7 separate regions of the Homo sapiens genome follow, and all the other regions are linked to region 5. The links are contacts of gene promoters, found by promoter capture Hi-C in human tissues and cell types (Jung and others, 2019). All regions are on one chromosome and are shown on one strand. The core of a region is centred on a gene start or on the middle of the fragment in contact, and the rest is flanking DNA. Distances in the headings are between cores, read along the strand shown. Region 1 overlaps LOC105369382 (a long non-coding RNA gene). Region 2 overlaps IUR1 (imatinib upregulated ABL suppressing lncRNA 1). Region 3 has its middle 8.1 kb from the start of DNAJB13. Region 4 overlaps PAAF1 (proteasomal ATPase associated factor 1). Region 5 holds the start of FAM168A (family with sequence similarity 168 member A). Region 6 overlaps PAAF1 (proteasomal ATPase associated factor 1). Region 7 has its middle 8.5 kb from the start of P2RY2.

Evidence for each region. The method cuts DNA at HindIII sites, captures the fragments that hold promoters and counts their contacts. A contact is called where the count stands out against the background at its distance.
Region 1: a fragment that was not itself captured here is called in contact with the fragment with the promoter of FAM168A in region 5 in 1 of the 25 tissues and cell types used here (H1 embryonic stem cells).
Region 2: a fragment that was not itself captured here is called in contact with the fragment with the promoter of FAM168A in region 5 in 1 of the 25 tissues and cell types used here (dorsolateral prefrontal cortex).
Region 3: a fragment that was not itself captured here is called in contact with the fragment with the promoter of FAM168A in region 5 in 1 of the 25 tissues and cell types used here (hippocampus).
Region 4: a contact is called between a fragment that was not itself captured here and the fragment with the promoter of FAM168A in region 5, in 1 of the 25 tissues and cell types used here (liver).
Region 6: a fragment that was not itself captured here is called in contact with the fragment with the promoter of FAM168A in region 5 in 1 of the 25 tissues and cell types used here (hippocampus).
Region 7: a fragment that was not itself captured here is called in contact with the fragment with the promoter of FAM168A in region 5 in 2 of the 25 tissues and cell types used here (dorsolateral prefrontal cortex and mesenchymal stem cells).

What each region holds. Positions count from the first base shown.
Region 1 is chr11:73,255,117-73,257,988 of GRCh38, reverse strand. All of the region lies in intron 2 of LOC105369382 (a long non-coding RNA gene), which reads right to left. Among named protein-coding and RNA genes, the nearest start is that of P2RY6, 16 kb to the left of the region's middle. The HindIII fragment of the contact is 9,601 bases long and covers 1-2,872 here.
Region 2 is chr11:73,161,107-73,164,000 of GRCh38, reverse strand. It overlaps IUR1 (imatinib upregulated ABL suppressing lncRNA 1), which reads left to right. Exons shown (of 4, transcript XR_950294.3): 3 at 1,330-1,461. Among named protein-coding and RNA genes, the nearest start is that of FCHSD2, 20 kb to the right of the region's middle. The HindIII fragment of the contact is 3,502 bases long and covers 1-2,894 here.
Region 3 is chr11:73,941,440-73,944,508 of GRCh38, reverse strand. No RefSeq gene overlaps it. Among named protein-coding and RNA genes, the nearest start is that of DNAJB13, 8.1 kb to the left of the region's middle. The HindIII fragment of the contact is 7,569 bases long and covers 1-3,069 here.
Region 4 is chr11:73,883,507-73,886,511 of GRCh38, reverse strand. The region is part of intron 2 of PAAF1 (proteasomal ATPase associated factor 1); the gene reads right to left. Among named protein-coding and RNA genes, the nearest start is that of PAAF1, 8.0 kb to the right of the region's middle. The HindIII fragment of the contact is 5,400 bases long and covers 1-3,005 here.
Region 5 is chr11:73,596,830-73,599,992 of GRCh38, reverse strand. FAM168A (family with sequence similarity 168 member A) reads left to right here and starts at 1,881. Exons shown (of 8, transcript NM_015159.3): 1 at 1,881-2,070. RefSeq lists silencers at 1,438-1,667, 1,798-1,927 and an enhancer at 1,819-2,547. The HindIII fragment of the contact is 9,297 bases long and covers 1-3,163 here.
Region 6 is chr11:73,915,145-73,917,994 of GRCh38, reverse strand. PAAF1 (proteasomal ATPase associated factor 1) reads right to left here. Exons shown (of 12, transcript NM_025155.3): 9 at 1,335-1,450. Among named protein-coding and RNA genes, the nearest start is that of DNAJB13, 34 kb to the left of the region's middle. The HindIII fragment of the contact is 6,185 bases long and covers 1-2,850 here.
Region 7 is chr11:73,208,169-73,211,336 of GRCh38, reverse strand. No RefSeq gene overlaps it. Among named protein-coding and RNA genes, the nearest start is that of P2RY2, 8.5 kb to the left of the region's middle. The HindIII fragment of the contact is 7,102 bases long and covers 1-3,168 here.

The DNA.
Region 1 (2,872 bases), core at 321-2,820, 340 kb after region 5:
GGGAGGCCACAGGCTCAGAGCTGGGCCTGGGAGCCAGGCCCCACCCCCACTGGCCCCAGGAGAGGTCAAGGAGCCCTTGGTTAAACTGTGTCCGGCAGCTAATTTGCTTCCTCCTGTTCCGCTCCCTCCCAGCTTCAGCCATGGCCTCACAATCCTTAGCAGCTGGCAGGTGCCCAGCAAGATCCGGCACTGGATGAGCCATATCTGGCATTTCCAACAACTTTTGAGATATCCCCTCCCCCTGTCAGCCCCTGGCCTTGGTGTCCCTGTGGCCTCCTCTCAGGGCCGGGGCTGCTCTTTTAGCCCCAGCCATAGTCCTAAGACCCCAGCCTCCTTCCTGAGGTCCAGGAGCCCCCACATGGCTCCCCTTTGCCCTGTCAGTCCACCAGCCACAGCTAGCCCTTGTTCTGAACAGGAGAACCTCTTCCTGGAACTTGCCTCTTTCTCATTCCCACCACATTCCAGCTGCCCAACCAAGTGTTGATTCACAAATTCATGAGCCAGGAATCCTGCCCTGGCAGCTCTTAGTCAGGGCTCTGGATTCCTCTCTTGCCTCTAAGCACACTGATGGGACACTCCATTTAGCTCCCTCCTACCAGACCCATGCCCACCAGCGCTGCTCCTGGTACAAATGTTTGTTTGTTTACTTATTTATTTTCAAAACGGAGTCTTTCTCTGTTGCCCAGGCTGGAGTGCAATGGCATGATCTTGGCTCACTGCAACCTCCTTCTCCTGGGTTCAAGCAATTCTCCTGCCTCAGCCTCCTGAGTAGCTGGGATTACAGGAGTGTTCCACCACACCCGGCTAATTTTTTGTATTTTTAGTAGAGACAGGGTTTCACCATGTTGGCCAGGCTGGTCTTGAACTCCTGACCTTGTGATCCACCTGCTTCGGCTTCCCAAGGTGCTGGGATTACAGGCGTGAGCCATCATGCCTGGCTATAAATGTTAACATACTTTCTGGCAGTATATAAAGGAGCATAGTGCCTATGTCAGAGGAGGTGATAGTCCACAGAGATCTGCTGCTCACACTACCTGTGGAGCCCTGTGACCTCTGCAACACTGCCTGCTGCCCTTGGGACTGTAGGGACACTGAGAGGGTGATGAAACCAACACATGGAACAAAAAGCCAAGTTAGGCCGGGCGCGGTGGCTCACGCCTGTAATCCCAGCACTTTGGGAGGCCGAGGCAGGCGGATCACCTGAGGCCAGGAGTTCAAGAACAGCTTGGCCAACATGGCAAAACCCCGTCTCTACTGAAAACACACACAAAAAATTAGCCAGGCGTGGTGGCTGGTGCCTGTAATCCCAGCTACTGGGGAGGCTGAGGCTGGAGAATCGCTTGAAACCAGAAGGTGGAGGCTGCAGTGAGCTGAGACTGCGCCATTGCACTCTAGTCTGGGCAGCAAGAGCGAAACTCCATTTCAAAATAGAATAAAATAAAATAAAATTTAAAAAAGCCAAGTTAATGTGAGTCAACCCTTGGGAGTGGGGCAATTCTTTCACTTGGTACCAACAGATCCCTGTCCATTTTAAAACAGATTTACTGAATCTGAGATTCAAGCAGACATTATTGTCTAGTAAATAGTCTAAACTATGTTCATAATGAAGAAAAAGTTGGTGTTTTCATTTATTTCAGCTCTTTAAGAAATCAACAAATCAAAACTGAAATATTGGAAATGACCTGTCTATTCATAGGGAACTGGTTAAATAAATCATGGTTGTTAAAACAGAACAGGGGAGTTTTTATGTAGAAAGACCTTTAAGAAAACTTCAGGGCCAGGCATGGTGGCTCATGCCTGTAATTCCAGCACTTAGAGGCCAAGGCAGGGGGATCGCTTGAGCCTGGGAGTTCAAGAGCAGCCTGGGCAACATAGTGAGACCCTGTCTCTAAAAAAATAGAATAAAATAGCCAGGCGTGATGGCTGACACCTGTAATCCCAGCACTTTGGAGGCCAAGGCAGGGGGATCACAAGGTCAGGAGTTCAAGACCAGCCTGGCCAACATGGTGAAACCTTGTCTCCACTAAAAATTATACAAAAATTAGTTGGGCATGGTGACACATGCCTGTAGTCCCAGCTACTCAGGAGGCTGAGGCAGGAGAATCACTTGAACTCGGAAAGTGGAGGTTGTGGTGAGCCTAGATCGCACCGCTGCACTCCAGCCTGGGCGACAAGAGCGAGACTCTGAATCAAAACAAAAACAACAACAAAAACACCAAAAAACAAACAAACAAAAATTAGCTGGGTGTGGTGGCACGCGCCTGTAGTCCCAGCTACAGGGGAGGCTGAGGCAGAAAAATTGCTTGAACCCGGGAGAGATAGTGCCACTGCACTCCGGACTGGGGGACAGAGGGAGACTCCATCTCAAAAAAAAAAAAAAAAAAAAAAAGAATAAAATAAAAATAAATTTAAAAAGGAATTTTCAGAAGAAAGCTAGGTGTAGAAATATGTATGTAGTAGTATGCAAACTTTTGTGTATGAAGGAAGAAAAAAAACACTACTTTTAGGATTTGTATATACATATAGTTACCTGGAAACATAAAGAAGCAACCACTGACTGGGTTACTTATTAGGGCCAATAACAGGGAGATCCTTCACTGTTTACCTTTTTTTGTTTGTTTGTTTGAACCAAGTGAATACATTATTTAGTTGAAAATTAAATGAAAAAGAAACAGATCACTTTTAAAAATCAAGATGTCACATTTAGTAAAGGTGCCCCAAATGTTGAGGCGTGACAAGGTTCCAATGATGAGAAAAATGGAATGTTTTTATCAACAAAGATTGATATAGGGATTTACTGTTTTCTAAGTAGTTGTGCATAAATTTAGACATTAACTTTCTTCAGCCTGGGCAACATGGCAAAAACCCATCT
Region 2 (2,894 bases), core at 140-2,639, 440 kb after region 5:
TGGAACTGAAGGTCACAACTGGAGCTGGGCCTCACGTAGGCTCCCTCATGTGTAGGCAGAAAATGCTGTCTTCTCTGTGGGTGAGCAAAGGTTGCCTATTTGCAAGAAACTATATCCCAAACATTCTTTCAAAGTGCCTAAAATTCCACCAGTAGAATTACACCTTCTTTGCACAACAGAGCTGAAAGGCTGTTGAAGCAGCACATTCCAGCAACCTTTTGCTCAGATTGTTGTGCCTTTGGAGTAACTGTGATCCTTGGTGAAATGTGAATGGAGTCAGGGAAGGGATGCATGTGAAGCCCTTAGTGGCTGGATTAACCAACTGTTGTCACCAGCTCCTTCGGTCAATTTGGTCTATTAGCTGAGCTCAGTGCTCCTAATGGGGAACAGAGGAACCTGGACCCAGGCTGGATAAGCTTTGTAGGGACAGTGAACAGGAAATAGCCTGAGTACTTGAGTACTATCATGGGCTGTAGACATAGGCAAGGGGCCATGGTGGAATCCTGAAGATGAGGAGCGGCTCTTGAAGGGGACCCACGAAGGAAACCTAAGTAAGGAAAGAGGCCCAGAGACTTTCCCTCCCATTCCCCAGGGTTGTCTTGAGCTGGCTTGGGTGCAAAAAGGAATAATATACTTTCCTGGTCCCCCTCATCCTGCCCCACCTCTGGAACTAGAGAACCAAATAACTTGAGAACTGCATGTAACTTGTGTGGTCCCTCCACCAGCTTAAGGTAAAAACTATGGCCAAATTTTTTCCCCATTAATTGCTTGAGCTCCACAAGATTTTATCAGCAGGAAGTTCAATCTGGCCCTCTGGAGGCCTTCCCCCATGTCACAGGAGTGCTCAAAACCCACAGGGACTACACTAGCTCCTTTCCAACAAAGGCACTCTTGAGTCCCAGTCTTGCTCCATCTTACTGTTCAGAGTCCCAGCAGCTGTGAACACATGACCCCCAAATCCAAGCTTTCATTCACACTCCTGAGCTCCAGCAAGTTTCACCAGGAGGAAGGTCCAGAGGGGCTTCTAGGTCCTCAGCCCCAGAGTTAAGCCTGGCCACCAGTCCAAGGCTCCTTCCTACACCACTGGGGGCTCAGGGGTTCTTTCCTTCCAACAAGTGGGGCTCACTGGGGATGGTCATCTTAGCAGCCAGATAACTTTGAACCTCACAAGGAAAGTGACTGGACCTTCTTCCATTTGTGCCCTGGGGCTCCTTTGTCAACGTCTCACTCCTCCCAAATATGTTGCCTTTTTCTTCAGCTCTGCATCCCATTTGATGTTAGGAGAGGCAGCCTTTGTTGGGCCACAAAAGGTCCTGTTTTGTCTCCCAGGTGCTACTTACATCTGATAAACTCAAGTGGTGGACAGAACAGAGAGGGCCTCCTCCAAGGTGACTTGCTAAGTCCTCCCCTAACGACGAAATAGAGAAGCTTCCTGCCCCTGTTACACATGGCCTCCTCCCGGTAAGTATCCCAGAAAGGAAGTGACTTCAGTGACCATTAGTCAGGGACTTTTATACTATGCCACTGGGTTCCTCAGAAAAGACCTCTGTGTGGGGCAAGTCAGGGAGAGGGAGACCAAGAGAAAGTGCCCTCTACACACGAGCACCCCCTCAATACACATACACGCATGCACGCACACGCACGTGCATAGTTATCAGCCCCATGCGACCTTACCTGCCCTTCTTGCCTCCAGTTAACCACTATCAACTCCTCACCAAAGCCTTCATGCAGTCTTTGGGTAACTTTTCCTCTGATTAAAGAACCCTGCAGCTAAAATACGGTTTTTGTTTTGTTTTGTTTTGCTTTGTTTTTTATTTAGAGACAGGGTCTTGCTCTGTCATCCAGGCTGGAGTGTAGTGGTGTAATCATAGCTTACTACAGCTTTGAACTTCTGGGCTCAAGTGATCCTCAGCCTCCCAAGAAGCTGGAACTACAAATGTGCACCACTGTGCCTGGCTAATTTTTTCTTAAATTATTTTGTTGTTGTTGTTGTATAGACAGGAGTCTGCTTAGGCTGGTCTCGAACTCCTGAGCTAAAGCAATCCTCTGCCTTGGACTCCCAAAGCATTGGGATTACAGGCACGAACCACTGCACCTGGTCAAATATGTTTTTTGAAAAAAAATCTCCAGGCCAACCACAATGAGATACCACTTCACACCCATTATGATGGATATAACTTTTTGTTAAAAGGAAAATTACAAGTGTTTGCAAGGATGTAGGAAAATTGGAACCCTAGTGCACTGCTCATAGAAATGTAAAATGGTGTAACCACTGTGGAAAACAGTTTGTTGGTTCCTTTAGAAGTGAAACATTGAGCTACCAAGTTGATCCAGCAATTTCCCTTCTAGGTCTATATCCCCCAAAATGGAAAGCAGAGACTTAAGCAGATACTTATATACCAATGTTCACAGCAGGATTATTCTCAATAGCCAAAAAGTGGAAATAACCCAATTGTCCATCAACAGATGAATGGCTAAACAAAATGTATACCCATAAGGTGAAATATTATTCAACTTTTAAAAAGGAATGCAGTACTGACACATGTACAACATGGATGAATCCTGAAAACATTATGAAAGAAGCCAGATACACACAAAAAACAAGTATTGTATGATCCCACTTATATGAGGTACCTAGAAAAGGCAAATTCATAGACCAAAAGCAGAATAAGAGGATTATCAGGGGTAGGAGGAAGGGGAATGGGGAGTTAATGTTTAATAATTACAGAGTTTCTGTTTGGGATGATGAAAAGCTTTGGAAATGGGCTGGGCGCAGTGGCTTACACCTGTAATCCCACCACTTTGGGAGGCTGAGGAGGGCAGATCACCTGAAGTCAGGAGTTCAAGACCAGCTTGACCAACATGGTGAAACCCATCTCTACAAAAATACAAAA
Region 3 (3,069 bases), core at 354-2,853, 340 kb before region 5:
AACGGGGTGCTGAAATATCTATTCCTATGGATCAATATAGTAATAACAATAAACAAATGATGAAAAAAATGGGATATCTCCCGGGGAAAGGACTAGCAAAAAATGAAAATGGACAACCAGAACCTTTAGAACTAAAAGGTTAAACAGAGCAAACTGGATCGGGGTATCATTTTTAGGAGCGGCCATTGTCGAGCCTCTGGCACCCATTCCTCTTGTTTGGCTAACTGCCAAACTGGTTTGGGTGGAGCAATGGCCACTGAAACGGGAAAAACTGGAGGCTTTAAAAGAATTGGTGCAAGAACAATTGCAAAAGGGACACATAGAGCCTACTTTCTCTTCTTGGAATTCTCCTATGTTTGTCATTAAGAAAAAATCAGGGAAATGGAAAATGTTAACAGACTTGAGGGCCGTTAATGCTGTAATTCAACTCATGGGCGCGCTGCAACCAGGGCTGCCCTCCCCAACTACGATTCCTAAATACTGGCCTCTCATAGTGATAGATTTAAAAGGTTGCTTTTTTACCATTCCTTTAGCGACCCAAGATTATGAAAAATTTGCTTTTACTGTTCCCGTCATAAATAACAAAGAATCAGCAGATAGATACTATTGGAACGTATTTCCACAAGGCATGTTAAATAGCCCAACTATTTGTCCAACTTATGTTGTTAAAGTTTTTATGCCAGTTAGAAAACAGTTTAAAAAATGTTATATCATCCGTTACATGGATAATATCTTATGTGCAGCTGAAACTAGGGAGGAATGAATACTATGCTACAAACAGAAAAGGCTGTAACTGCTGCAGGATTAATCACAGCCCCCGATAAAATCCAAACTTCCACTCTATTTCAATATTTAGGAAGGAAAGTAAAACAAAGTACTATTAAGCCTCAAAAGGTTCAAATTCAAAGAGATAATTTAAAAACTCTAAATGAGGCCGGGCGTGGTGGCTCACGCCTGTAATCCCAGCACTTTGGGAGGCTGAGGTGGGTGGATCACAAGGTCAGGAGATGGAGACCATCCTGGCTAACACGGTGAAACCCTGTCTCTACTAAAAATACAAAAAATTAGCCAGGCGTGGTGGCAGGCACCTGTAGTCCCAGCTACTAGGGAGGCTGAGGCAGGAGAATGGCATGAACCCAGGAGGCGGAGCTTGCAGTGAGCCGAGATTGCACCACCGCACTCCAGCCTGGGTGACAGAGCGAGACTCTGTCTCAAAAAAAAAAAAAAAAAAAAAAAAAACCTCTAAATGATTTTCAAAAATTATTCCCACTTTAGGCATTCCTACTTATGCTATGTCTCACCTCTTTTCTAACTTATGAGGTGATTCTGATCTTAACAGCAAATGCTCTCTATCCAAAGAAGCATTGTAAGAACTTCAATTAATTGAAGAAAAAATTCATCAGGCACAAGTGACTTGAATTGATCTACTACAGCCATTACAGTTTTTCATTTTTCCTACTAAACATTCAACTACAGGTGTTACTGTTCAACAGGATGATCTAGCTGAGTGGCTTTTTCTACCTCACAATACAACTAGAACACTTACTCTGTACTTAGATCAAATTGCTGTACTGATAGGTCAAGCAAGGCTGTATACAACAAAATTAATGGGATATGATCCAAATCAAATTATAGTTCCTTTAAATAAACAACAAATTCAGCAAGCTTATGTTAACTCCCAGAAATGGCAAGTTAATTTAGCTGGTTTTATTGGTATACTTGATAATCATTATCCTAAATCCAAAATATTCCAATTTCTAAAATTGACATCATGGATATTACCCTCCACTACTCAAAAGACCCCTATTGAAGGGGCCAATACTGTTTTTACTGATGGATCTAGTAATGGAAAGGCCTCATTTGTAGGACCTCAACAACAAGTTGTTCAAACTGACTTTGCTTCTGCTCAAAGGGCTGAACTTATGGCTGTAATTACAGTACTAAAAACCTTTAAACAGCCAGTAAACATTATTTCTGATTCGGCCTATGTGATGCAAGCTGTGCAAAATATTGAATGTGCCTTAATTGAAAATGTAACTGATGATCAACTCAATCTTTTATTTCATTCTTTACAACAAGCAGTACAACAAAGGCATTCCCCTTTGTATATCACTCATATAAGAGCACATACTAACCTCCCCGTCCCTTTAACCAAACTCAATCAAAGGGCAGATGCACTGGTTTCTGCAGCTTTTACTGATACACAAACATTCCATTCTTTAACCCATCCTAATGCTGCAGGCCTTGGAAACAGATATGGCTTATCTTGGAAACAGGCTAAGGAAATTGTACAACATTGCTCTGCCTGCCAAGTCTTACACCTGCCACATCAAGGAACAGGAGTTAACCCTAGAGGTTTATCTCCAAATTCCATCTGGCAGAGGGATGTAACACATGTTCCTGCCTTTGGAAAGTTGTCCTTTGTTCATGTTTCAGTAGATACTTACTCACATTTTATTTGGGCCACATGTCAAACAGGAGAAGCTACAGCTCATGTTAAAAGACATCTTTTACCTTGCTTTGCAGTTATGGGAATCCCAGAAAAAATCAAAACTGATAACGGCCCAGGGTACTGTAGTAAAGCTATGGCTACATTTTTTTCAACAGTGGAATATTACCCATACTACAGGTATTCCATATAACTCACAAGGACAAGCAATAGTTGAAAGAGCTAATCATGCTTTAAAAACTCAAATACAAAAACAAAAAGGGGGAGACCAGGAATATAAAACACCGCATATGCAATTACACTTAGCTTTATTAATATTACATTTTCTAAATTTACAAAAAGATCAATCCATGACTGCAGCTGAACAACACTTGACAGGACAAAAGGAAAACAAAAAGGCCAGACAAGATATATGATGGAGAGATACTCACACAAAAAACTGGGAAAAAGGAAAGATAATTACGTGGGGAAGAGGATTTGCTTGTGTCTCTCCAGGTGAAAATCAGGTACCTGTGTGGGTGCCCATCAAACATCTGAAGATCTATCATGAGCCACACCAGGAAGAGAGGACTCTGGGAAGAGCCAGAGCTCCCAATACGAGTGATGGCGTGAATGAACAT
Region 4 (3,005 bases), core at 26-2,525, 290 kb before region 5:
AGTAGAGATGGGGTTTCACCATGTTAGCCAGAATGGACTCGATCTCCTGACCTCGTGATCCACTCGCCTCAGCCTCCCACAGTGCTGGGATTACAGGCGTGAGCCACCGCGCCTGGCCTGACTAAAATACATTTTCAAGACTAAAAGCTAAGAACAAAGATTTAGAGATTTGATACAGCATTTGTAGAGAGGGCTTTTAGAGTGATCTCAACCTGATGTAACTGGCTGTGAAATGTAATTCTTCCAGGATGAAAGGTGAAGATCAGTATGCATACATGTATTTATCTACAGTATATACACATAATACATAGTAAAGAATTAAGCTTCAGTAACCTGTAAAATTTGCCTAAGTAGAATACTGATTTTGCAGAGATATGGGCTAAGTAAGATACTATCCTACACATAAACACACGCAGATGATAGAATGAAGTTAAAAACTGTTTCCATTCTTCTTCTACACCTTATATATTCATGTCTATAACAGCCCATAACACACTGTTTACATGTCTGACTTGCCCAACAGACTGTGAAGTCCTTAAGTCTAGCAGGGTGCTACATTCATTTATTATTCAGTAAATAAATGTTGAGCCAAACTGAAGTTACAGGAGAGAAGCAGAAATCATCATGGATTCACACAAGAGTGGGAGGGATTTTTTTTTTTTTTTTTTTGAGATGGAGTTTCACTCTTGTCGCCCAGGCTGGAGTACAATGGCGTGATCTCAGCTCACTGCAACCTCCACCTCCTGGGTTCAAGCAGTTCTCATGACTCAGCCTCCCAAGTACCTGGGATTAAAGGCACGTGCCACCACACCTGGCTAATTTTTGTATTTTTAGTAGAGACGGGGTTTCACCATATTGGCCAGGCTGGTCTTGAGCTCCTCCCCTCAGGTGATCCACCCACCTCAACCTCCCGAAGTGCTGGGATTACAGGTGTGAGCCACCACGACCAGGCCGGGAGGGCTTTCTAGAGAGTATAGGAGCCTCAAAGAAAGATAGGAGCTGGCTAGGAAGAAAATAGGGAAAAGAAAACTCCAAGTCAAGGAGGAGCATATCAAGAATAAAAGAAAGTCAGCCGGGCATGGTGGCTCACACCTGTAATCTCAGCACTTTGGGAGCCCAAGGTGGGTGGATCACAAGGTCAGGAGTTCAAGACCAGCCTGGCCAACATAGTGAAACCTCTTCTCTACTAAAAATACAAAAATTAGCCAGGTGTGGTGGCACGTGCCTGTAGTCCCAGCTATGATACTCAGGAGGCTGAAGCAGGAGAATACCTTGAACCTGGCAAGCAGAGGTTGCAGTGAGCCGAGACCACGCCATTGCACTCCAGCCTGGGTGACAGAGTGAGACTCCATCTCAAAAAAAAAGAATATCACGCCTGTAATCCCAGCACTTTGGGAGGCCGAGGCGGGTGGATCACGAGGTCAGGAGATCGAGACCATCCCGGCTAAAACGGTGAAACCCCGTCTCTACTAAAAATACAAAAAATTAGCCGGGCGTAGTGGCGGGCGCCTGTAGTCCCAGCTACTTGGGAGGCTGAGGCAGGAGAATGGCGTGAACCCGGGAGGCGGAACTTGCAGTGAGCCGAGATCCCGCCACTGCACTCCAGCCTGGGCGACAGAGCGAGACTCCGTCTCAAAAAAAAAAAAAAGAATAAAAGAAAGTCAAAAAGAACAAGAAGGAAGGATTCATCAATTAATACACCAGTTTGGTAATAGCAGTCATGGAAATGATAGTTGAGGGATAAATCCCAGAGAAACTCAAAGTCTAGGGTAGAAGTTTGGCCTAGAGAAGACCTAGTAAAGACGCTTTTCACAGGGAAGTATCATGAAGCACTATTTCAGAAAGATGCCACAAAAACAGAACTGAAGCAACTTCACTTTTTATCCCACTCCATGATTCCCTATTGTGTTTACCAACTGCCTTAAGAAGTCTGGCCCTCATGGTGCATCATTTCAACCAATCACTCAATGACTTCTCCACATTTGTGGATGTATATATATGTATTTTTTTAATATTTGAGACAGGGTCTCGCTCTGTCACCCAGGCTGGAGTGCAGTGGTATGATCATGGTTCACTGCAGCCTCTATCTCCCAGAATCAAGGGATTCTCCCGCCTCAGCTTCCTGAGTAGCCTGCATGCCACCATGCCCAGCTATTTTTTTTATTTTTATTTTTAGTAGAGACAGAGTCTCACTATGTTGCTCAGACTGGTCTCGAACTGCTGGGCTCAAGCAATCCTTCTGCCTCAGCCTCCCAAAGTGCTTGGATTACAGGGTGAGTTACCCTGCCCAGCTGACTTCTCTACATTTGTGAAGTCACTAAAATGACCTCAGCCTTGGTTTTCTCTATATAATAGCAGAACTAGGATCAATCCAACCACTTACCTTCTACATTCCTACATGCAGGCTGCTGAGTACTGCTCCAGAAAAGAACACAACTGTGCCGACTGTCACCAATCCAATTCATGTTTCTAAACTCAGCAGTTTTGTAATCCTTTCACCCCTCCCATTCCCCACAGCAGCTGGTTCTCATGCCATCTATCCTGCCATCAAAATCTCCTTCCTTCATAATAGCCAAAAACTAGAAATATGTGTCCATTAATTGATGAATGGATAAACAAAATGTAGTATATCCATACAACAGAGTATTACCGGGCCACAAAAAGGAACGAAGTACTGATAAAAACAACAAATAGAAACATTATACTAAGTTGCCTGTAATCCCAGCACTTTGGGAGGCCGAGGTGGGAGGATCACTTGAGGCCAAGAGTTCAAGACCAGCCTGGCCAACATGTCGAAACCTCGTTCGTCTCTACTGAAAATACAAAAATTACCCGGGTGTGGTGGCAGGCGCCTGTAATCCCAACTACTCAGGAGGCTGAGGCACAAAAATCACTTGAACCTGGGAGGTGAAGGCTGCAGTGAGGAGCCGAGATTGTGCCACTATACTTCAGCCTAGACGACACAGTGAGACTCTCAAAAAAAAAAGAAAGAAAGAAACATTATA
Region 5 (3,163 bases), core at 632-3,131:
TTGGAAGTGACTACTATTATTTGTTTTAATAGTGGAACTATTAAAACCAGGCAGGCACAGTGCTGAAGCATGAATGAGACAATGGGAAGCCATGGAAAGCATCTAGGCAGCAAAGAAAGGTTGTTAGATTTGGAAATTATGTTTTTTGGAAGTAGCACAGCTTAAAAAATTGTCCAGGTGTAGTGTGGCTCACACCTGTAATCCCAGCACTTTTGAGAGCTGAGGCAGGAGGGTCTCTTGAGGCCAGGAGTTTGAAACCAGCCTGGGCAATATAGTGAGACGACGTCTCTTACAATTAAAACAAAACAAAAAAGAAAACAAAAAACAGTCGTTATGTGCTCCTTTTAAACAATTCAAACAATATGAAAACAAAAATTACAGTCGGGCATTGTGGCTCATGCCTGTAATCCCAGCACTTTGGGAGGCTGAGGCGGGCAGGTCAGGAGGTCAAGAAATCGAGACCATCCTGGCCAATATAGTGAAACCCCATCTCTACTAAAAATACAAAAATTAGCTGGATGTGGTGGCGCGCGCCTGTAGTCCCAGCTACTCAGGAGGCTGAGGCAGGAGAATCGCTTGAACCCGGGAGGCAGAGGTTGCAGTGACCTGCGATCGCCCCCACTTTACTCCAGCCTGGCTATAGATCCAGACTCCGTCTCAAAAAACAAAAAAAACCTACGTGCAATCTGACACCCTTTCCCCCAAGATAATCATTGCTAATATTTTGGCGAACCTCTTTCCTGAAATCTCTCCATGCTTGTAGAATATTGTGTCAAACCTCACATAAATGCACTCGTGTAGACATGCTGTTGTGTAATCAACTTTTTCCCCGAAGAATAAATTGTGAATAGCTTTTCATGTCAATAGATTTATATCATTTTAAATGGCTCCTTAGTATTGCATTGTATGTATATGTCACGTCTTATTTAAGCAGCACCCTATCGATGAACATTTACTCCCTTCATAATTAACTACGTCATATAACAACTTTGTGCATTCATCTTTTCGAAATTGTTCGATCATCTTTTTAAGGTAAATTCTTAAAAGTAATGGAGCTGGGTCAAGAAGAGGATATGCCCTTTGTCGTTTGGATTCAAGTTGCCGAATCGTCCTCAAATTTGCAGGGAGACCAGCGAGGAAGCTCCGGCATTAGTTCTGGTGAGAGACAGCTGAAACGGAGATGGCGAGGGATGAACAGAATCACAGGTGATCTAGCCCATCAAGGCCCATCCTCGGTGGGCTGGCGTATTCCTTCCCTTTTGCCTCTCTTTCACTTCTTTTTCTTAACATGGAGGAAGAACCGAGAACTCCATCTCCCAGCATTTCGCAGGGACCACACTCCCTGGGAACTGTAGTACCGGGTCTGAGAAGGGTCCGGAAGGAGAATAGGAAGCTGAGGGGCATGCTGGGAGGTGTAGTCCAGAGACAGAGACGAGAGGGAGAGGGAGAGAGGGAGAGAGGGAGAGAGGGAGAGACAGAGAGTGTGTGTGTGTGTGTGGGCGGGGGGAGGGGGGTGTCTATGCAAAGAGGATGGAGACGCTGCGAGTACGGCCCCTTGGGGATGGGGCCTCGGGCGACCTGACTTTCCTCACAGGTGGTCTTTGAGTCTACAAAATTCGCCAGCGGATGGTTGGCTTTATTCCACTGTCCGTGACCGGAGAGGGCGCGGCCCCTCTGCACCGGGCTCGCGGCGGGAGGCGCAGGCCGCGCGCGGGCTAAAGCAGGGCATGCCGGGAGTTGTGGTCCCGGCGCTCTGAGGCTGTGGGACGTGTCGCGGCGCCGCGCCGGCTCCTCCTTCCCTGCCCTTCTGAGCGGTCCCCCGCCTCCTCCCTCCGCCTCCTCCTCCCTCGCCCGCAGCCGAGCGTCCCCTCCCCCCACCCGTCGGGCTCCTCGGCGGCTACTGCAGAGGATTCAGAGCCGAGTCGCTGAGGAGGAGGCTCCGGTCCCCGCGCGCCATCCGCCACCCTACTGGACACGGGCGAGAGCGTCGCCGCCGTAGCCTCCGGAGAAGACAAGGGCATCGCCGCCTCAGCCGCCGCCGCCGCCGTTTTCGCCTGCAGCTGCTCACCGGTGAGGAGACTCCCCCCGCCACAGGGTCCGCTGGTCCTGAGTCTGGGCCGGTGGCGCTGGCGAGAATGAGAGGGGAGGCTGCGGAGCCCCCGTGCAGGTTGGGGGGAGGGGGTTGAGGTCGCGATGGAACGGCGGGCTGGCGGGGGAGACTTGTCCAGGCGCTGGCCGGGGGTGGGGTGAGGGTGGGACCCAAGCAGGTTGGGGGGCGGGCGACAAGGGAGGAGGACTTTTGATGGAGAATAACCCAACCTGGGACAGGAGAGTGGGGTGGGGGCGTCGGGTTGGAATTCGGGATGGTCTTGGGGCGAGGTGGAAGATGAGACTAGGGTGGGATGGCTTTTAATGGGGGAGGGGACTGAATGAGGGTGGTGATTTGGGTTTGGCCTGGAGCAGTTGACAGCTTGGGATCTGAGCTGGGGTGAGGGGCAGGGGAATGATTTCAACGGAGAGTGAGTGGCATGTACAGGGTTGGTTAGGGCCCTGCGTAGTGTTAATTCAGAAGGGTGGAATTTGGGGTGGACCTGGGGCAGGATGATGGAGGTGGCAGGAGTTGGGGGTGAGGGGCTTGGCATGGGTTGAGACCCAAGCTTGAAGTGGGTGTTTGTCATCTGGGGCTGGTGGAATTTGTGGAGACTTATGGAATAGCATGGGTTAGGATAGAGCAGAAGAGTGCAATTTGGGGGTTTCCTGGGGTGGGCTGATGGAGGTTGGAATAGGAGTTGGTGGAGGTGGGACATTCAGTGAGGGGAGTGTGATGGTGAGCTGGCAGGAAGGGGCCACATTGGAAGTCAGGCCCGAAATGGGAGGACAGGGATGGAAATGGAGTGTGGGGCACAGTGGGTTGGATTTAGGGTGATCTTACAATCACTGGAAAGGGCATGGTGGCTCCTTGGTTGCAGAGTCAAGGCAGAGGGCACATAAAACATCACTGGGCTGCTTTCATTGAAAGGATAGCGGCAGGGGTGAGCAAAGTTGGGGGATGGTATCTTGAAGAAAATATCCCTTGGCCAAGGTGGCAGAGGGAGTTTTGGAGAAGGACTTTCGGAGATGAGCTGGTAGGCCTGGGGAGGTGGTTGCTGATGGTGAGGTGGCA
Region 6 (2,850 bases), core at 191-2,690, 320 kb before region 5:
ATTTCTGTAGCTAGCCCTGTCAGACAAGTGATCACACTGCACAACAGTCTTTTACTTGTCCATCTTTACCATTAGACTCCAGGTGCCTCAAAGGCAGAGTCTGTATCTTTTTTTTTTTTTTTTTGAGATAGAGTCTCGCTCTGTTGCCCAGGCTGGAGTCCAGTGGCACGATCTCAGCTCACTGCAACCTCCACTTCCCAGGTTCAAGCGATCCTCCTGCCTCAGCCCCCCAGTACCTGGGATTATAGGTACGTGCCACCATGCCCAGCTAATTTTTGTATTTTTAGTAGAGACAGGGTTTCGCCATGTTGGCCAGGCTGGTCTTGAACTCCTGACCTCAGGTGATCCACCCACCTTGACCTTCCAAAGTGCTGGGGTTACAGGCGTGAGCCACCACGCCCAGCCCAGAGCCTGTACCTTTTATTTCTGGTTTTCAGTGCCTTGAACCAAGCCTGATGCCCACAGAAGCTATTTTCAATAAATATCAGTTGAAAAAAGGAAGGAAATCAAAGGAGGAAGGGACAAAATTGTAGAAATTGTTAAATCCTGCAACAGAGAGATTGTGTGATTCTCTTTGGATATCTTTAAGGCCAAAGAAAAGCCTGTTTAGAAAGGTCATGATCAAAACTACATAACTAACAGAGCTGGGTTCCTTGAACTAAAAATGATCATTCAGGGCTGGGTACAGTGGCTCATGCCTGTAATCCCAGCACTTTCGGAGGCTGAGGCGGGCAGATCACGAGGTCAGGAATTCGAGATCAGCCTGACCAACATGATGAAACCCTGTCTCTACTAAATATACAAAAATTAGCTGGGTGTGGTAGCGCGCACCTGTAATCCCAGCTACTCAGGAGGCTGAGGCAGGAGAATTGCTTGAACCCGGGAGGCAAAGGTTGCAGTAAGCCGAGATAGCACCACTGCACTCCAGCCTGGGCGACAGAGGGAGACTCCATCTCAAAAAATAAATAAATAAATAAAAATAATTCAATCTTTCAATCTTAGGGTAGCCAGGGTCTAATGTAAGAGAAAATTACTGAGCTCTTTAAAATTAAAAGTTCTAGACAATCAATTTAAATGAAATGTTAGTTTATATTTAAGCTTAATTTTCAAAGCAATCATTAGTCAGACAATCATAATGGTATGAATCATATATTTTAATATGAGTCCAGGAATAATAAGAAAAATCAGAAAATTCAGACTGGAAAACCTTTGTAAATGGAAAAATATACCCTTGATTCAATAGTTATCTATATGCTAGGCTAAATCAATGTTAAAGCCAATAAAAATTTCCACTCTGCAGAAGACCTGCATCATGTAAATGAATGGTGACTCACCTTGGACTCCTCACATCCAGCTGATAAATGTTTCCATCTTGAGTCCCAGCCAATAGCAAGAAGCCAGAGAGAAAAGTACAGCAGTTGAAAGCGTCTGAGCCAATAAAGAGGAACACCTGGGAACAAGTAGGAGGCAAAAATGCTGTTTAAAGATTAATTTGTTTCCAAGAATAAACAGGCACCAAAAAAGGAAAAATTTCACTATATTTTGAGATATTTTCTTCCTTCCCCCTTTAATTATTCTCAAATGGTAAATTACACATTCACCAAAAACTGAGAAGGAAGTACTCCCAGGATTTCAGGAACCTGGGGTTGACTAAGGACTTGAGCAGGTTATATAATATACTCTGAAGTAGCAGTTTTCCAACTACTACCACTCAACACACTGTCTCACAGGATCCTCACCACCAAAATTCCTTCTTTGCCCCTTTTTCATGACAACTTTCTGAGAAACACTTGCAATTCCCACATGTAAGTTTTGCTCCATGTCACTTCAACCTTTTGAAGGAGGGTATTTTGTAGGAAAATGAACAGGCTTAAATAAAGTAGCAATGTAAAGAATCACAATTCTCCCCATGAATCTGAAAAAAAAAATTATTATAGTTTTATTTTCTCCTTACTGTTAGCTCAAACTGATCATGTCTTCCCCAAACATACTAAAAAGAAAAGGCAAAAAACAAAATAAACAAACAAAAAAACCTGATTTCCCTCTGGAAGTAAAAGCCAGCATGGAAACTCAAGTACAAAGGCGATATTAGCAAAAATGGTAATGTTCCTGAAACAAACTTTGAAAATGGAAATATCACCAGCACAGTGGAGTAACAAGATGAAATGAAAACAGCAAACCCTGTGGCCAAATCAAATCACTAAAGTTGTCTGGATGACGATCACAGGAGCTAGAAGGAAATTTTAAAAATCTAATCTCTGGGAAGAGAGAATTTAGTTAAGAACATAATCTGCCCAGCAAAAATTCAGAGGATGTAGGAAGAAACTTCAACTAATGGTCTGTTCATTAATTGATCAAGAGTCCTGAATGCATGAGTCCCTTTTTTGAGACAGGGTCTCACTCTTGTTCCCCAGGCTGGAGTACAGTGGCGCAATCTTGGCTCACTGCAGCCTCGACCTTCCAGGCTAAGGTGATATTCCCACCTCAGCCTCCCAAGTAGCTGTAGCTGGGATTACAGGTGCATGCCACCATGCCCAGCCAATTTTTTGTATTTTTAATAGAGATGGGTTTTTTTGCCCAGGCCAGTCTCGAACTCCTGGACTCAAGCAATCCACCCTTTCTGGGCCTCCCAGAAAGCTGGGATTACAGGCATGAGCCACTATGCCCAGTGGGCGTGAGTTCTTTACTCAGAATTTTTTCACATTACCTTAGAGGTAGCAGGACTCATAAAGAAAATCTATACAACTTCATCATTTTACATATAGCACACTAAGGTCCAGAGAGGGAAAGTGACTTAACAAAGATCACAAAACAGTAGACCATTTAATCCTCATCACATACCCTATTATG
Region 7 (3,168 bases), core at 215-2,714, 390 kb after region 5:
CAGGGTCTTGCTCTGTTGCCCAGCCCAGCTCATTGCAACCTCGGCTTCCCAGGCTCAGGTGATCCTCCCAGCTCAGCCTCCCAGCTGGGACTACAGGCTGGTGCCACCACACTCAGCTGATTTTTTATATTTTTAGTAGAGATGGGGTTTCACCATATTGCCCAGGCTGGTCTTGAACTCCTAGGCTTAAGCAATCTGCTTGCCTCAGCCTCCTAAAGTGCTGGGATTATAGGCATGAGTCACTGCGTCCAGCCTCAGTATTTCTTTTTCACTTATATAACCCAGCAGGCTGAAAATGATGTGTCTCCCACTACTTTTTTGTTTATATCAACCTCTCCTTCTATTGCTATTTCATCTATTTTGATCCTCTGTTATTCAATATATAAAAGTACATCCTCACTATGGCTTACATATTTTTATAGATAAAAGTGTCCCCTTTTTGTCCCATCTAATGCTTTTAGCCATATTTTAAAATATTTCTTACATCACTACTACCATCCCCTGCTTTATTTCATTTGCATTTAGCCAGCATAGCTTTGTCTGTGCTTCCAAATGTAAACTTGTTGTGTCATTTAACTTTTCTATTTAAAATTTGGAATGAGTAATATATGGTTCAAAAATGTTATAGTATAGGAAAAAAAGATATTCAGAGAAATGTCTCCCTCCATCCCCCATCATTCAGTTGCCTGATTTCCACTGCTCCCTTCACTCTTAACCTGGAAAGTGTTTTTGTTAGTTTATTGCGTATCCTTGAGTTCCTTTGTGTGAATACAAACATTTCCACTTATTTTCCTTTTTAATTTTTATTTATTTTTAATTTTTTTTAACATGGAGTCTCGCTCTCTCACCCAGGCTGGAGTGCAGTGGCGTGATCTTGGCTCCCTGCAGCCTCCACCCTCCAGGTTCAAGCGATTCTTGTGCCTCAGCCTCTCAAGTAGCTGGGACTACAGGCTTGCACCACCATGCCTGGCTAATTTTTTGTATATATTTTTTTCAGTAGAGACAGGGTTTCACCATGTTGGCCAGGCTGGTTTCAAACTCCTGACCTCAAGTGATCCATCTGCCTCAGCTTCCCTCATTTTCCTTTTTGAAAAAACACAAAAGAGTATCATAAAGATACACACTGACCCTTGCATGTTATCACTTAACAGTGTATCTTGGAGATCTTTCCAAGTCAGTACATTGGAAGCTTCTTCATTCTTTATAAGGGCCGCATAGTATCCCATTGTATAGTCATACCATAATGTATTTAACCAGTCCTCTGTTGGTGGACATTTGGGTTGTTGCCAATTTTTTGCTAGTACAAACAATGCTGCAATGAATAGCCTTGTACATATTTTTTTGCTTGGGTGTAAATATATGTAGGAAAATTTCACAGAAACTTATTACTCGATCAAAAGGATTGTGCATTTGAAGATGTGATAACTGTTGTCAAATTGTCAGCCACCGAGATTGTATTCATTTACCCTTCCACCAGCAGTGTATGGGAGTGCCTGTATCTCCATAGCCTCATCAACACTGTGATATCAAACTTTTGGATTTTTGCCAGTCTGATAGGTGAAAAGTCATGTCTCAGTGTAGTTTTAATTTGTCAGGTTTTTTTTTTTGTTTTGAGTGCATATCTTCATAACAAAAGTATAATTTATGATCCATTTCCATTTCCTTTTCCATTACAGTCATGAGTTGCTTAAAGACTGGGATGCTTTCTAAGAAACGTGTCACTTTGCGATTTCATCATTGTGTGAACGTGAACACAAACCCAGATGGTATAGCCTACTACACACCTAGGCTATATGGTATAGCCTATTGCTCCTAGGCCACAAACTTGTACCTGTACTGAATACTAGAGGCAATTGTAATACAATGGTAAGTATTCGTATATCTAGACATATCTACACATAGAAAAGGTACAGTAAAAACACAGTATTATAATCCTATGGGACCACTGTTGTATATGCAGTTCATCATTGATCAAAACATCACTATGCGGTGCATGACTGTATATCCTTTAGCCATTTTTCTATTAAGTTGTTGGTCTTACTGATTTGCATTAGCTTATTGTATTTTAGGAAGATTATTCATCCCTCTGTCTGTGACCTGAATTGAAAATATTTTTTCCTAGTTTGTCATTTGTCTTTAGGTTTTACTTAGTGTCTTAGTCCATTTTCTGTTGCTATGACTGAATACCATAGACAGGGTAATTAATAAAGAATAGAGATTTATTTAGCTCATGATTCTGGAGGCTGGGAAGTTCAAGAGCATGGTTCAGGCATCTAGTGAGGGCCTTCCTGCTGTAGCATGACATGGTGAGAGGTATCGCATGGCAATACGGAGCAAGCATGCTAGCTTAGGTTTCTCTTCCTCTCCTTATAAAGCTACCAGTCCCATCATGTGGGCCCCACCTTGATGACTTTGTCTAATCCTAAGTGCCTCCTGAAGGCCCCACTTCCAATCAACAATGAATTTAGGGATTAAGTCACTAACACATGAAATTTGGAGGACATGTTCAAATCATAGCACTTAGGTTTGTAACTTTTTTTTAACATAGAAGTTTTAATTTTTCTGTGATTTAATTTATCAATCTTTTATTTTTATTTTTATTTTTTTTTTATTCAGGGTCTCATTTTGTCCCCCAGGCTGGAGTGCAGTGGCATTTTCTCAGCTCACTGCAGCCTTGACCTCCCAGGCTCAAGCAATCCTCTCTCCTCAGCCTCATAAGTACCTGGGACTACAGGCGTGCACCACCACACCTAGCTAATTTTGTTTTGTTTTTTGTAGAGACAAGGTCTCACTATGTTGCCCAAGCTGGTCTCAAACTCCTGTACTCAAGTGATCCTCCTACCTCAGCCTCCCAAAGTGCTGGGATTACAGATGTGAGCCATGGCACCTGGCCAATCTCTTCTTTTATGGCTTCTGGAGTTTGAGTCATAATTAGAAAGGTTTTTCTACTCCAACATTTCTTCCCCATATATTCTTTTAATACTTGTTTTTCTCTTTTTTCACGTTTATCTTTAATACATGTATTTGGATATTCTGTATTATTTTAAGTATTTCTTGTAAGCAGCATATTATGTAGTTGACTTTTGTTTTTAAACATGAGAATATAAAAATATTTGCCTTCAATAACTTAGCTTAATTTGTTTATATATATTTCATAATAATGTGGCC